Linked DNA regions of Homo sapiens: regions 2, 3 and 4 are each linked to region 1. Evidence: promoter capture Hi-C in 16 types of primary human blood cells and fetal thymus (Javierre and others, 2016). All regions are on one chromosome and are shown on one strand. Each heading gives the region's core, a stretch centred on a gene start or on the middle of the fragment in contact. The rest is flanking DNA. Distances are from core to core; before and after follow the strand shown. Region 1 holds the start of NAA20 (N-alpha-acetyltransferase 20, NatB catalytic subunit). Region 2 overlaps RALGAPA2 (Ral GTPase activating protein catalytic subunit alpha 2). Region 3 overlaps RALGAPA2 (Ral GTPase activating protein catalytic subunit alpha 2). Region 4 overlaps RALGAPA2 (Ral GTPase activating protein catalytic subunit alpha 2).

Region 1 (3,109 bases), core at 106-2,605:
GCTACCAGACTGGCCCAACAGAAAATTCTTTCCACAGGATCAAGTCTAAACCCCTCCTGTTTCACCCATTTCTTCCTGACTGCTCAGTGGCAGAAACCAGCCACTAGATTCGCACTGATCCCAGTTGTCTGACCGCACTTCAAGTTTCCCCATTTTCATGCCCCGCTCCTTCTCCGGAACTTCCGTCTTCCTCACTTACCAATGTGTTATCCATCTTCAAGGCTCACCCCCTCTTTGAAATGTTCCCAGCCATCTTATCCCATAGTTCTTTCCATCTTCCTGACACTTGAATCGGAACCACTTTGTCCTTAGTTTTCACATACCGCCCTGTTGTTTTTTTAAAGTGGATCCAGGACTGATAGATGGGAAGGAAGGAGAGATACCAGCGTAGCAAAATGTTAACTGCAGAATCCAGGAAAAGTGTCTATAAAAGCACATGGTGAAATTCCTCCAACTTTTCTAAATGTGTGGGAATCTTCATAATAAAATGTTTTCTTAAAAAAAAAAAATTGGTACCTGCAAATCAGAGGTCTGGCCTTAACTCGAATCCAAAGAAACTGCATCCAGGGCTCTGGGCACAGCGAGCCTCCCCTAAGATCTGCCGTGACTCCTCACAGAGGAAAGGTGTGTACACCGGGGTGCGCAGCTACAGTAACTAAACTTGCAAACACTAACCATGACTGAGACAGCATCTGCTGCAGGGGACGCAGTGATCAGTGTCATTTCATTTGGATACAATTTAACCACGGCCACCAGGTGGGCTTCACGATGTACACATCCCAACAGCTGCTGACCAGCTTCCGATCCTCGCAAGCCCCCTCTGCGGCCTGGCCGTCGGCGGTGCCCTCTGCCCAGAAGAGGCGCGGCCCGGCCACGAACCAGCAAGCAGTAGGGCAGGGCGAGAAGCCCAGGTCGTGGGCTCCAGGCCGCGTCTCCAGCTCGCCCCATCACCCCAGCGCCTCCTGACAGCGACCACGAGCGGAGGCCCGAGCGCTGCCCCAGAACCTGCCAGCTCGCAGGGTCCAGAGACAAAGTTTGAGCACCTCGGCCAAGGTCGCCAAGGCCGGCGTGCGTCGACTCCAGGCCCACCTCTCCCTGGACCCTGTGGCCCCAGGGAGGCGCCCACGTTGGCCGGCGGGGGGTGGTTCTCGCGGGTCCCCGTCCGGGCTTGGGGTCCGGCCGGGAAGGCGCGGCTGGGGCCGGAGCTGGCGGGGCCGGGAAGCGAGGCCCGGCCAAGAGCGGCTGGCCCTAGGCGCGTGTCACTCACATGTTGTTGAAGCGGAACAGGTCGTCGCAGGTAAAGGCCCGTAGCGTGGTCATCGCGCCGCCGCCGCTTCCGAAGACCGTTCGCCAAGACCCCGCGCCCGCCCTGCCGGAAGTCTCCCGGAGCGTGGCCGCCGCGGAACCGAGCGAGACGGGGTACTGCTTCCGGGCTACGAGTTGCTGGGCAACGACAGCAGCAAAGCAGCTTCCTCTGGCGGCCGGCGGCGGGAATTGCCAGGTCGCTCCTGTAAGGCCTCCGGGGCTGTGGCTGCCCAGAACCTCGGAACCCCTCCCAGGCAGCGGCTGCAGAAAGCAGGCGGCGACACCTGGGAAGGAAAGAAGCTGCTGGTGATGCGGAAACCCAAGCAGAAGAGCGGAGTTCGCAGCCACCCGGTGCTGCAGAGTAAATGAGGAATGGGAGAATTTATGACCCAGAATCCCTTGTCCCAGTGTTGCGAGTTGCAGATGTCATCTTAAAATGTCAATACCACGTTTAAAAACAAAAAGAAGGCCGGGCGCGGTGGCTCACGCCTGTAATCCCAACACTGGGAGGCCAAGGCGGGCAGATCACTTGAGTTCAGCAGTTCGAGACCAACCTGGCCAACATGGCGAAACCCCCTCTCTACTAAAAAAAAAAAAAAAAGGAAAGAAATAAAAATTAGCTGGGCGTGGTGGCACGCGCCTCTAATCCCAGCTACTTGGAGGCTGAGGCAGGAGAATCGCTTGAACCCAGGAGGCGGAGGTTGCAGTGAGCCGAGATCTCGCCACTGCACTCCAGCCTGGGCGACAGAGCTAGACTTGGTCTCAAAAATAAATAATAAATAAATAAAAGCAAAACGAAATGTAAAATTGATTTTGATAGTACGCTTTATTTTACCCATTTATTTTTCCTATTTGGGAAAAATATTTTTCCCTGACCCCACTTTATTATACCCGAAATATCATTTCAACATGTAACCAATCAATACTCAACATGTAATCAATCAATAAAAAAAGGAATGTGATATGTTACATTCTTTTTTGCAAAGACTTTGAAATCCGGTGTGTATTTTACATTTGCAGTGCATTTCAATCTGAGAGAGCAGCTGTCATCGGAAATGCTTGTTCTCTATTTAGATTTCATCAATGTATGGTTAAAAAGCAGATTCTCATATCCAAGCGGTTCCAAATATACTGTTTTCAAATCGCTGAACCAAACATCAGTTTTTAAATTTAAAGTAGTTAAAATTAAAAGTTAAAAATTCCTTTATTCAGACCAGACACAGTGGCTCACACCTGTAATCCCAGCTACTTGGGAGGCTGAGGTGGGAGGATCATTTGAGCCCGGGAGGTAGAGGTTGCTCTGAGACATGATTGCACCACTGCACTCCAGCCTGGGTGACACACCAAGACCCTGTCTCAAAAAGATAAGATAAAGAGAGATAAAATACATAAAGCAAGCAGGAATGCTGAAATGTATTTACACATGAGTGTTAAACTGGTCAATATCCACAGAGCTGTAATCACTGTCTCTCCTGGGCACTGTATAACACTATGCATTTGTATTTTATGGACAAGAAAAATTTTCATTACTATCAATTTTCCTCAGCTTACAAATTTGTAAAATTTTGTATTGTCAAAGACAATAAAAAGCAGAGAAAACCTGGAAACGTGTACTAAACAGTAATCTTTTTCTGGCCATTTCAAAGTGTTTCATAATTTTTTGTGTGTGACATGAACTAATGTTGATTTGAATTTTGTTCCTTATGAAGTAGTGAAGGTTTTTATAATATTTTTGGCTCTGATTCATTGGTATTATAAACATTAGAAGTTTATAGCTACTTTATGTTTGTATCTAGGTAATGGT
Region 2 (2,873 bases), core at 2-2,501, 540 kb before region 1:
GCAAATTGTAAATGTATTTATAATTATTAAAATGGGACATCTAAAGGGCTCTGTAATTGATGTTTTTGTTAGCCAAGACATATATTTGTTACTAATTATTTCTGAAAGTAATGTAGCACTTAAAAACAAGTCCTTTTATTTTTCTAAAAATACAACTTCTGACCTGAATTTACTTTACTCAAGTTAATGAAATATTATTGAATATAAGGGGAGTTTACTGTAGCAATAAACAAAACTTCCAAGTTTGACTTAGGTTTGATTGAAGGATAATATTTATAAGGACAGGTGAGAGATGACAGTCCTCTCCTGACATGTATTGTTAAGTTAATCATAATTCCTGTTTGTGCTTATTGTACAAATTCAGAGTGATAAAATACAGAAGCTGTCATATAATTAACGTTACACCATCAGGTAGCATCCACTGCCTTCCGAGTGTTTTCCACAAGGTTTTGTGGGAATGGACAAGCCACAGATTCATCAAAATTTATCAATGAAAGTTTTATTATAACTTTATTCAGCTATCAATCGCCATAAAGACTTCAGATAGATGACTGCACCAAAAATAAATGCGAGATATTTTTTCTTTTTTTTATAGCTGTAGAATCAATAATTATTTTCATTAATCTGTAGACAGAGCCCACTTGTACCTCAATGAGGAAAGTAAAAATATGTAGGAGGTAACAGATGGCAGAGGTTTCGGTTATGAGGTTTAACACATGTGCAGTGAACTTGTTTCACAGCTTTAAAAAGTGTAAGATGATAGCATGGAGGCTGATCCAGAGAGAAGAAAATCTACCTGACAGGCCAGAAACTACAGTTTTGTTTGGTTTCCTTTGTTGGATTTAAAGGTGTAAAGACTTTCTTTCAAGTAAATGTTATCAGACATGAATATGAATTATGTATATTTAGCCCAAAATCTTCCGGTATCTAATAAGACATGCTACGTGAAATAAAGCATAAAAATAGTATAGCAACTCTCAGTATATGTGGGAAAAGGAAAGATTTTGTTCTTAGTAAACTGTTACCGTGTGATATCGTGTATCAGTTGGCATACATTTTTCAGTTGAGAACATGTTCTTTTGCTCTGAGGTTTCTCTCTGGAAGGAGACTCTACTGTGGCCTGTCACAGAGCCCAGATCACCGGAATCTTTTTTAATAGAGTCACTGGAGTGCATTCTGTCTTTTCCCAGAGAGGGTAGATGCTCAGTAGATATATTGATTGATAGAAAATGGAAGAAAAAAAAAAAGACCTTCTTCTGAGACTGGCTATTCCAAATCTACACAGCATCATGGGGAAGAATGGGTAACCAAAGCAGCTGAGCTGAGCCACTTTGGTTGCAATTTTGGCTCCAACTATCAGTTTCAAGGCAGGCATTAACTTTCTACTGTGGTGAGCTAGTCAACTTTCATTACCCTAGAACAGTGATTCTTGAGGGGCAGGGGAATTTTGCCCCCTCCAGGGAACATTTGGCAATGTCTGGACACACTTTTGGTTGTCATAAAGTGCACTGTCATTTGGTGGGTGAAAGCCAGGGATGTTGTTAAATATCCTGTAGTGCACAGAAACACAACAAAGAATTTATGACCAAAAATGTCAGTACTGCTGAGGTTGAGAAACCTTGCCCTAAAGGAGTACTTCTGCAGATGACATTGTCCTAAGAAAAGAGCTAGGTAATATAAATTAAATGACACAACTCAGTAATCAAAGACAGTATGAAAGTCTCACTCTGTTAGCTTAACCAAGGGAATAAATGCATACAAAAATTTAACCAGGGAGATTAAGAGAGTCAATGTTTCAGGTTGAGTTAAATGAGTTTTCAAAAAGGGGGTACAATTTCATAATGGTTCAGCTTACTAAATTCTCTGTCTAAAAAAATCAGTTTAAGAAATAAAACATGGAACGTTCTGATTAATTCTGAAGTTAACATGAAAATTATCTGAGATGAATTTTGTCTGGAAGCCCAAAGTAGAAAGTTGTGTGGCCTGCATCTGCAAAGCCCAAGGCACTGTATGTATGAAAGGAGGCAGGAAGGGGGCTCAGGTTCCACTTCTTGCATGAGCACTGCCTGAGTAGCTAAGAGGAAGCAGGATGGCTGAGAGAACAGCTTGCATGGAAAAGGGCTGGTGCATGGAGACAGATAATTGCCTTTTTCAAATGTCTGAAGCAGTGCTGTGTGAGAGAGACTGTTTTACCCAGAGCCAGGACTAATAGGTAGATTCTAGCTCATCATCAGGAGACACTAAATCCAGTTTTCTGTTCAAATATGGCAGGTGATAGGTTCTGTGTTTGTAAGCCTTTCAAGCTCTAAAGTATTCAGTCCAAGGCTGTCTGACGCTCTAGGACAGCCTCAGAAAAAGGGAACATTCACTTTAGAGCTTGAGCCCTACCTAGCCTTGCACTCAAGTCACTGCATCCATGAATTGGTGAACAGATACATAGCCTGTTTGGCTTGTGCTGCTTATTCCATGAAACGGGTTTCTGATGACTCTGGGACTTTGGGAAGGGAAAGATAGTTAGGCCTTCAGTAGGCAATGGTACATTTCATTGCAGAAGGGATTTTCCTGCTCTTTGGAATATAGCTATTGACCTGTAAGACCATCTTTTCTCATTTAGAGTTCTATGAAGACTTTAAGAAATGTTACATTTTTCTCCAGGCACAGAGGCACTGAGAGACACAGGAATAGCTTCTAGAGACATTTCAGGTACTAAAGTTATACTTGGGGAAGGAGGATACATTAACTCCCATTTGGAGAGGAATGATTTTTGAATATAAGAGATTTAAATCATGACTGTGGTTTATAATTCATAAAGAGTAGACTTGGATAGAAGGATATAATGTCAAGAAAAGCATTTTAAATTGCAATTTTTGTTT
Region 3 (2,707 bases), core at 16-2,515, 680 kb before region 1:
AGTTTGATGGAAGTAAAGCGTTGCCCTTTTAACAAATGGGATTGACCACTCTTTAAGTCTACATAGCTTAGACTGTTTCCACTGTTTTTAAAGTCATTCCACATATAGTGACTGAGTGTCTGCTATTTGCAGATGAAGCCCTAGCACTTATGGGACTTTCATTCTATTAGGGTGGATGGACAATAAATAACAGGCTGGGTGCAGTGGCTCATGCCTGTAATCCTAGTACTTTGTGAGGCCCAGGCAGGTGGATTGCTTGAGGCCAGGAGTTCAAGACCAACCTGGCCAACACAGTGAGACCCCATCTCTAAAAATCAAGAACAAAAAAACCAAATAATAAATATATGATACAATTTCAGGTAATGATGATAGAAAAATTAAGCTTGATAAGGGTATGTGTATGCTTATTTAGATATTGGGGTGAGGGAAGGCCTCTCTGAAGGGAGGTTTGGACTGAGACCTGGGTTAAGCAAGGGAGCAGCTTTGTGATTATTTTTGGGGAATAGTGTTCTAAGCAGAAGGAACAGTAAGTACCAGGATCTGAGTCATAAATAGACTGGAAATCTCATGGAAGTCAATAGGGGTGGAGGGGTGGAGGATAGAAGGAACTGGGAAAGGAGCGGGGGTGGGAGAGGGGAAATAGGGATAAGATGGTGTGGAACTTTGGCATCCCAGTAAGGACTTGGGATGTTACTCTAAGTAAGATAAGATGGGGCACTCCAGTGAAGCAAAGAGCAGAGGAGTGATCTGAACTGACCTTTAGGTGTAAAGGAATCAATGTGGTTCCCTCATAGAGACTACACTTGCTTGGTTAGCTTGCCAGAGATAGGTTTTCTGACCACAAGCTTTGTAACAAAGCTTTCTTTGGCTTACTTTATAAAAGGTCAGATCTTTGGCCCAAAAACCGACCAGTGACTGGAGGCAGACAAGAGAAGAGGGAAGAGAGAGAAAGAAGTGCCAGAGAAGAGGAATGAGTGGCTGTGGAATCTGTAGCAAGCAAAGGTGTTAAGGAAGATGGGGACAGGCAGCCTGTGTCCCTCCTTACTGCAGCAGCGAGTAGTGATGAGAAGACAGGACGGAAACACTTTGTGGCCAGTGGGACAGGAAAGCTGGAGTACATTGGGCCATGTAATGGGCCCACACAGCGGCCTGAGCTTGTAACAATATGGAGACGGGCTTGCTGTTATCCCCAAATCTACTGACAGGCAGAGAGCAGGCATATTAAAAAGTGCCCTTGATGCTGACAAAAAAAAAATGGAGATCTGTCAGTGGCTGGAGAAGAATGAGACCAGAAAAATGTTGATGGGTCAGTACAACAACAATTTAATATGAATGGTTGCAAAGGCAGCAAACACTGCAGATTGGCTCCACATCAGATATCCACCCAAATTAGGACCCCAGTTGTGCTTTATGTTGGTCTTTTCTCAATGGAAAGACCTGAGGGAATCTTAATCTTTGGCTCAGTGTTAATTGCAAAGATGTAATTCTATGAACCAGTGTTGCTAACTGAACCTTATGTCTTACTCAGAAAGGTGGCTGTGGTGTTTCAAAATATGACAGTATTAGGTTAGCTACATACAGGAGGACAATCATTTGTATTCTTCCAGAGACATCATTTCTGAGCATAAACCAGGTCTTTAGCACTTTTATAGTGTGCTATGAAGAAGCTTCTGTTCTGTCAGTTGACAGTCAGTCAGCGTCAGGTTTAAGCACAACAAGGAAAGGTTGACTCATATGGACTAAGGCTCCCAGGTCTTGGGAATGGGTCTCATTGTGACTGGAAATTTCATCACATCTTTGCATTCAAAAGTGTCAAACATTTGCTCATGCCTACTCAGTGCTAGCTGCTGAATGGCTGGACAGAGAAATGTCTTTCTGCCCAGTTCTATTATTTTTTATCCTTTTCAGTGAATGATGTCTAGAGAAACACAAAAACAGCAAAGCTTCTCCAGATAACTAGGTCATTCTAAGGCATTATGTACCATGTATGTGCTGTTACAGAAGGAGTAATTTAAAAGTTGGATAGAGAAAATTTAAGTCATTTGCTGTTTTTTACAACATTTTAGAATTGGTAAAGATACTCTTTTATATATTGTTTGGGTCTTAAGATTTCTTCAAAGTTGAAAAGTAAGACAGGTTTGGAAAAAAGTATGGCCTGGTGTCATGATTGATGAGTTTTTTGCAGTAAATATTCAGGCTTTGAAAAAAATCCCTTTCTCGAACGCCCTGGAAGTACCCCCCAAAACAGCTTTATAGCTTTTTCTGGTTCTACAATTTTACATACTCATTATAAACATTTGGATAATATGAATATATGAAAAATAATTTAGGTATCAAGGGGTTCTCAAATTCTGCAGTCCCCTGCCAAGCATTACTGAAATCCCGGTGAACGTGCTTTCCAGGCTGGCTCTTGCTTGGGTGCATTCCTTTCTCTCTCTCTTCCCTGCACCTGCCTCGCTTACACACACAAACACGGTTTTACATGAATAGTCATCTGCATGGTCTAACACTGTGTTTTTGACTTAAAGCCTTGGATATTTTTCCACATCAGTAAGTGAAGAATTACATAAGACTTCAATGGCTGTAGTGTGTTCCACTGGACTCCTATAACAAAATTCCCTATCACCCATCCTTCAGGTCATGAGTTTCAGGCCTTCACATGCTGTTAGCAGATTGTGTGCCTGTGAGTGACTGCCCAGTGACCAGA
Region 4 (3,054 bases), core at 353-2,852, 560 kb before region 1:
AAATTTGGGATAATAGCCCGTACTTTATGAAGGCTGTTGGAAGAATAAATGAGTGAACATCTAAGTCAGGTGCCCAAAATATTGTGTGTGGTGTAGTCTGCAGTTTTAGCTACACACACACAGACACACACACACACACACACACACACACACACACACTGTGTGACACTGGGTAAGTCAACCTCAAAGGTCAGTTTCCCTCACCTGTTTGACCAGGCTGATGAGAACGGGGAGGCCATGGAGGAGCTGGGTTTGGTTTTGCTTTGTTTTGTGGAGTGTCAGGAGAGACTCGTGGTCTGAGGAATCAGTGCGGGAAAGGCTGACCAGAGCCAAGACTTTTATGGATGCACATTCATGTTCACACACAGGTATCTTGTATGAAAACAACCACCACAAAGTAACATGTTAAGAGTGTTATTAAAATGCCAAAAAATATTTTAAAATGATTAACATAAAGGCTAAAATTTGACCTTAAATGGATTTTTTTTTTTAAACCAAGCAAACTGGTTTTCACTGTGATTTAAAATTTAACTAACGTCTCTGATATTTGGGAAATTCTTGATAGAATGTCATTAAAACTTCATAAAATTAACATATGAAGGTGGTATTCAGTAAAATTCTTTATAGACTAAATAATGATTTTGACTAATAATACTATACATTGATATGAGATTCAACATTTACAAAGAATTTTGAGGCATTCTCTTTGATTCTGTATGGGAAGCAGGCCAAGTCTTATCATGTCTGTTTTAGAGATGGGGAGATTGAGACCCAGAGAAATTGTTATCAAGCTGGAGTGTGAGTTCCAGAGATGAAACTGGCTTCCAAAATGTTTTGACTCAACGTGCAGTGCTATGTCTACTCCTTTACACTGTGTTCCTGTTAAAATTAAAATTACTGTAAAGCCCTTTGACCTACTTGAGAATCCTTACAGATTATCCAAAAGAAAGTCATCATTGTGGTACTGTAGGAGGCAAAACTGAAGCTTCAGTAGGTTGAATTTACTTAAACATGGACTAGTTTTAATTATTTTTATTGAAAGGGAAGAAAATTAGGTGATTACTTCTTTTGTCTGTTCTTTGGAAAGATTAGTTTTGATCCCATTTCAGGGTATGTATTGGACAGCTCAATTTAATAAACCTCTGTGAGGTAATTTTATATGATGCACTCCATGTTGTGATTAACTCCTCCAAATACTCCGTTCTTCTTTGAAATACTAATATAGAGAATCAGTACACGCAGTTCAATAGTTCACCTTGTCATCTGTGAAAAGGACAAACTGTAATGTGATAAGGCTTAAGGATTATCACAGTTCTGAATTTAACTTTCTGTTCTTAAGAGAGCAATTTCTTCATAAATGTTCAAAATAAAACTCATATGAGCCTGATTTTTAGGACATGCAAAGAGAAACAATTTGATTATATCTTTGTTTCTTATTGAATAATCCTACCAGTTATCAAATGCTTAGAATAATAAACTGCCTCCAAAATCTTAAATTCCTTCATCACTGGCAAACTGTTTACTTTTATATTTGCTTTCTCATTAAATCATGTTTGCTGAAAATAACAGCTAAATTTACTGTGCATTGTCTTAAAGTTTACCTGGGATTTGTTTTAATCAGATGTGGTAAGACATACAGACATGGAAATGATTGTCATGGAGGAAGAAGTTTATACTCACGGATCCCTGGAAACAGGGGTCATGCAGGGAAGTACCAGGAGGCAGAAGGAACAAAATGGGGCAACCGCTTTTAGTGTCATTTCTATGGAAATAGCAAGGCAAGGCAGGGTATGCAGTTTTAGGATTACTAATATGAATGACTTCAGTGGGCTCTGGAGCATACGGGCTGTTTCTAGTTTCCTGGTACCCAGTCCTAGGATGACAGGGCAGGGGATATTGACTTAGTATGTGAGAACTAGAGAAAGGAGGTAGTTGGAGGGTCTGAATTTTGAATTGGTAGGTTTGCATGTGAAAGACATGCTGCCTGGTGAATAGACTTCTATCTCTAGGAATTAGCTAACCCTGGAAGTGGCAGTCCTTCCCTGATCAGTGAGGCCCTAATGCCAGAGCATTGAGAAGACAGAAAATAAGAAAATATACTTAAGACATGCATACATTTAGTTCTGTTGAAATAGTCAGGGGAGGGGGACATTTATGAGTCTACAGCTAAGAATCAGTATTGTCATTTACCTCATCCCTTATTTAACAAATAAGCTTATAGTCTAGAAATACTGATTTAGATGCTCTGAGAAATAAAAAGATGAATAAGTCATAAGCCACTATAGTTTTTAAGAGCTTATAAAAAGGACAGAAGACACAACATTTATCCTAATAGTCACAAATAATGTGATAAATTCTATGACATTTACTTAAAGTTGTAATCATAGAGATAGACAAATAGACGGATGGAACAGAAGATAAAATATAGCACTGAGTGCACACAGACATGGAATCATGATATATGATATATGTGGCTTGTCAGGTCTGACAAGGAAACAATGTATTGTTCAACACATTTCTGTGGGACAAGTACTTAGCCATATGGAAAAAAATGAAATAGAATTCCTACCTCACGCCATGTCCAAAGTCAGTTTCAGAGGGATAAAGTACATAAATGTGAAAAGGAAAATTTAAAAACTTTTGGAAGAAAACGTCTTTTTTAAAAGGTTCTATGATTTTTTTTAAAAAATAGCTAACCATAAAAAAAGTGTCAGTAATTCAACCTCAGCAAAATGAAAACTGCATTACCAGAGAAACTTTTAAGAATTCTGTGGTTTAGCAGAACCACAAAGGGAAAAAGCCAGCTTTGTTGCTCTTTTCTTTCCATGTTCTTGTTAGCTCAGTGATAACTTTTAAAGTAAGGTTTGGTGAGAAATGTTATCTAGCATCTTGGTTTAGTTGGGAGATTCCAAGGTCTTTCTCTACTGGAATGCAGACTCCAGGAGGGGGACGCCTGTTGTCTGCTATGTGCACAGCTGATTCTTGCTTCCGAGAATATTGCAGGACAGGAGAGAAGCATTTAATAAATACTTGAATCAGCGAACAAATACACTT

Evidence for each region. Contacts are between HindIII fragments. The CHiCAGO score rates a contact against its expected background, and 5 or more counts as called.
Region 2: a contact is called between a fragment that was not itself captured here and the fragment with the promoter of NAA20 in region 1, in 1 of 17 cell types (total CD8 T cells). The highest score is 6.0, in total CD8 T cells.
Region 3: a contact is called between a fragment that was not itself captured here and the fragment with the promoter of NAA20 in region 1, in 1 of 17 cell types (total CD8 T cells). The highest score is 5.2, in total CD8 T cells.
Region 4: a fragment that was not itself captured here is called in contact with the fragment with the promoter of NAA20 in region 1 in 3 of 17 cell types (naive CD8 T cells, fetal thymus and non-activated CD4 T cells); the score reaches 5.8 in naive CD8 T cells.

The regions. Positions count from the first base shown.
Region 1 is chr20:20,015,608-20,018,716 of GRCh38, reverse strand. It overlaps NAA20 (N-alpha-acetyltransferase 20, NatB catalytic subunit), which reads right to left and starts at 1,355. Exons shown (of 6, transcript NM_016100.5): 1 at 1,268-1,355. The coding sequence starts at 1,320. RefSeq lists enhancers at 1-92, 554-1,054, 1,669-1,848 and silencers at 1,109-1,228, 1,279-1,348. The HindIII fragment of the contact is 8,583 bases long and covers 1-3,109 here.
Region 2 is chr20:20,560,559-20,563,431 of GRCh38, reverse strand. The region is part of intron 23 of RALGAPA2 (Ral GTPase activating protein catalytic subunit alpha 2); the gene reads left to right. Among named protein-coding and RNA genes, the nearest start is that of RALGAPA2, 150 kb to the left of the region's middle. The HindIII fragment of the contact is 3,753 bases long and covers 1-2,873 here.
Region 3 is chr20:20,694,521-20,697,227 of GRCh38, reverse strand. The region is part of intron 1 of RALGAPA2 (Ral GTPase activating protein catalytic subunit alpha 2); the gene reads left to right. Among named protein-coding and RNA genes, the nearest start is that of RALGAPA2, 17 kb to the left of the region's middle. The HindIII fragment of the contact is 809 bases long and covers 861-1,669 here.
Region 4 is chr20:20,579,267-20,582,320 of GRCh38, reverse strand. The region is part of intron 20 of RALGAPA2 (Ral GTPase activating protein catalytic subunit alpha 2); the gene reads left to right. Among named protein-coding and RNA genes, the nearest start is that of RALGAPA2, 130 kb to the left of the region's middle. The HindIII fragment of the contact is 1,229 bases long and covers 988-2,216 here.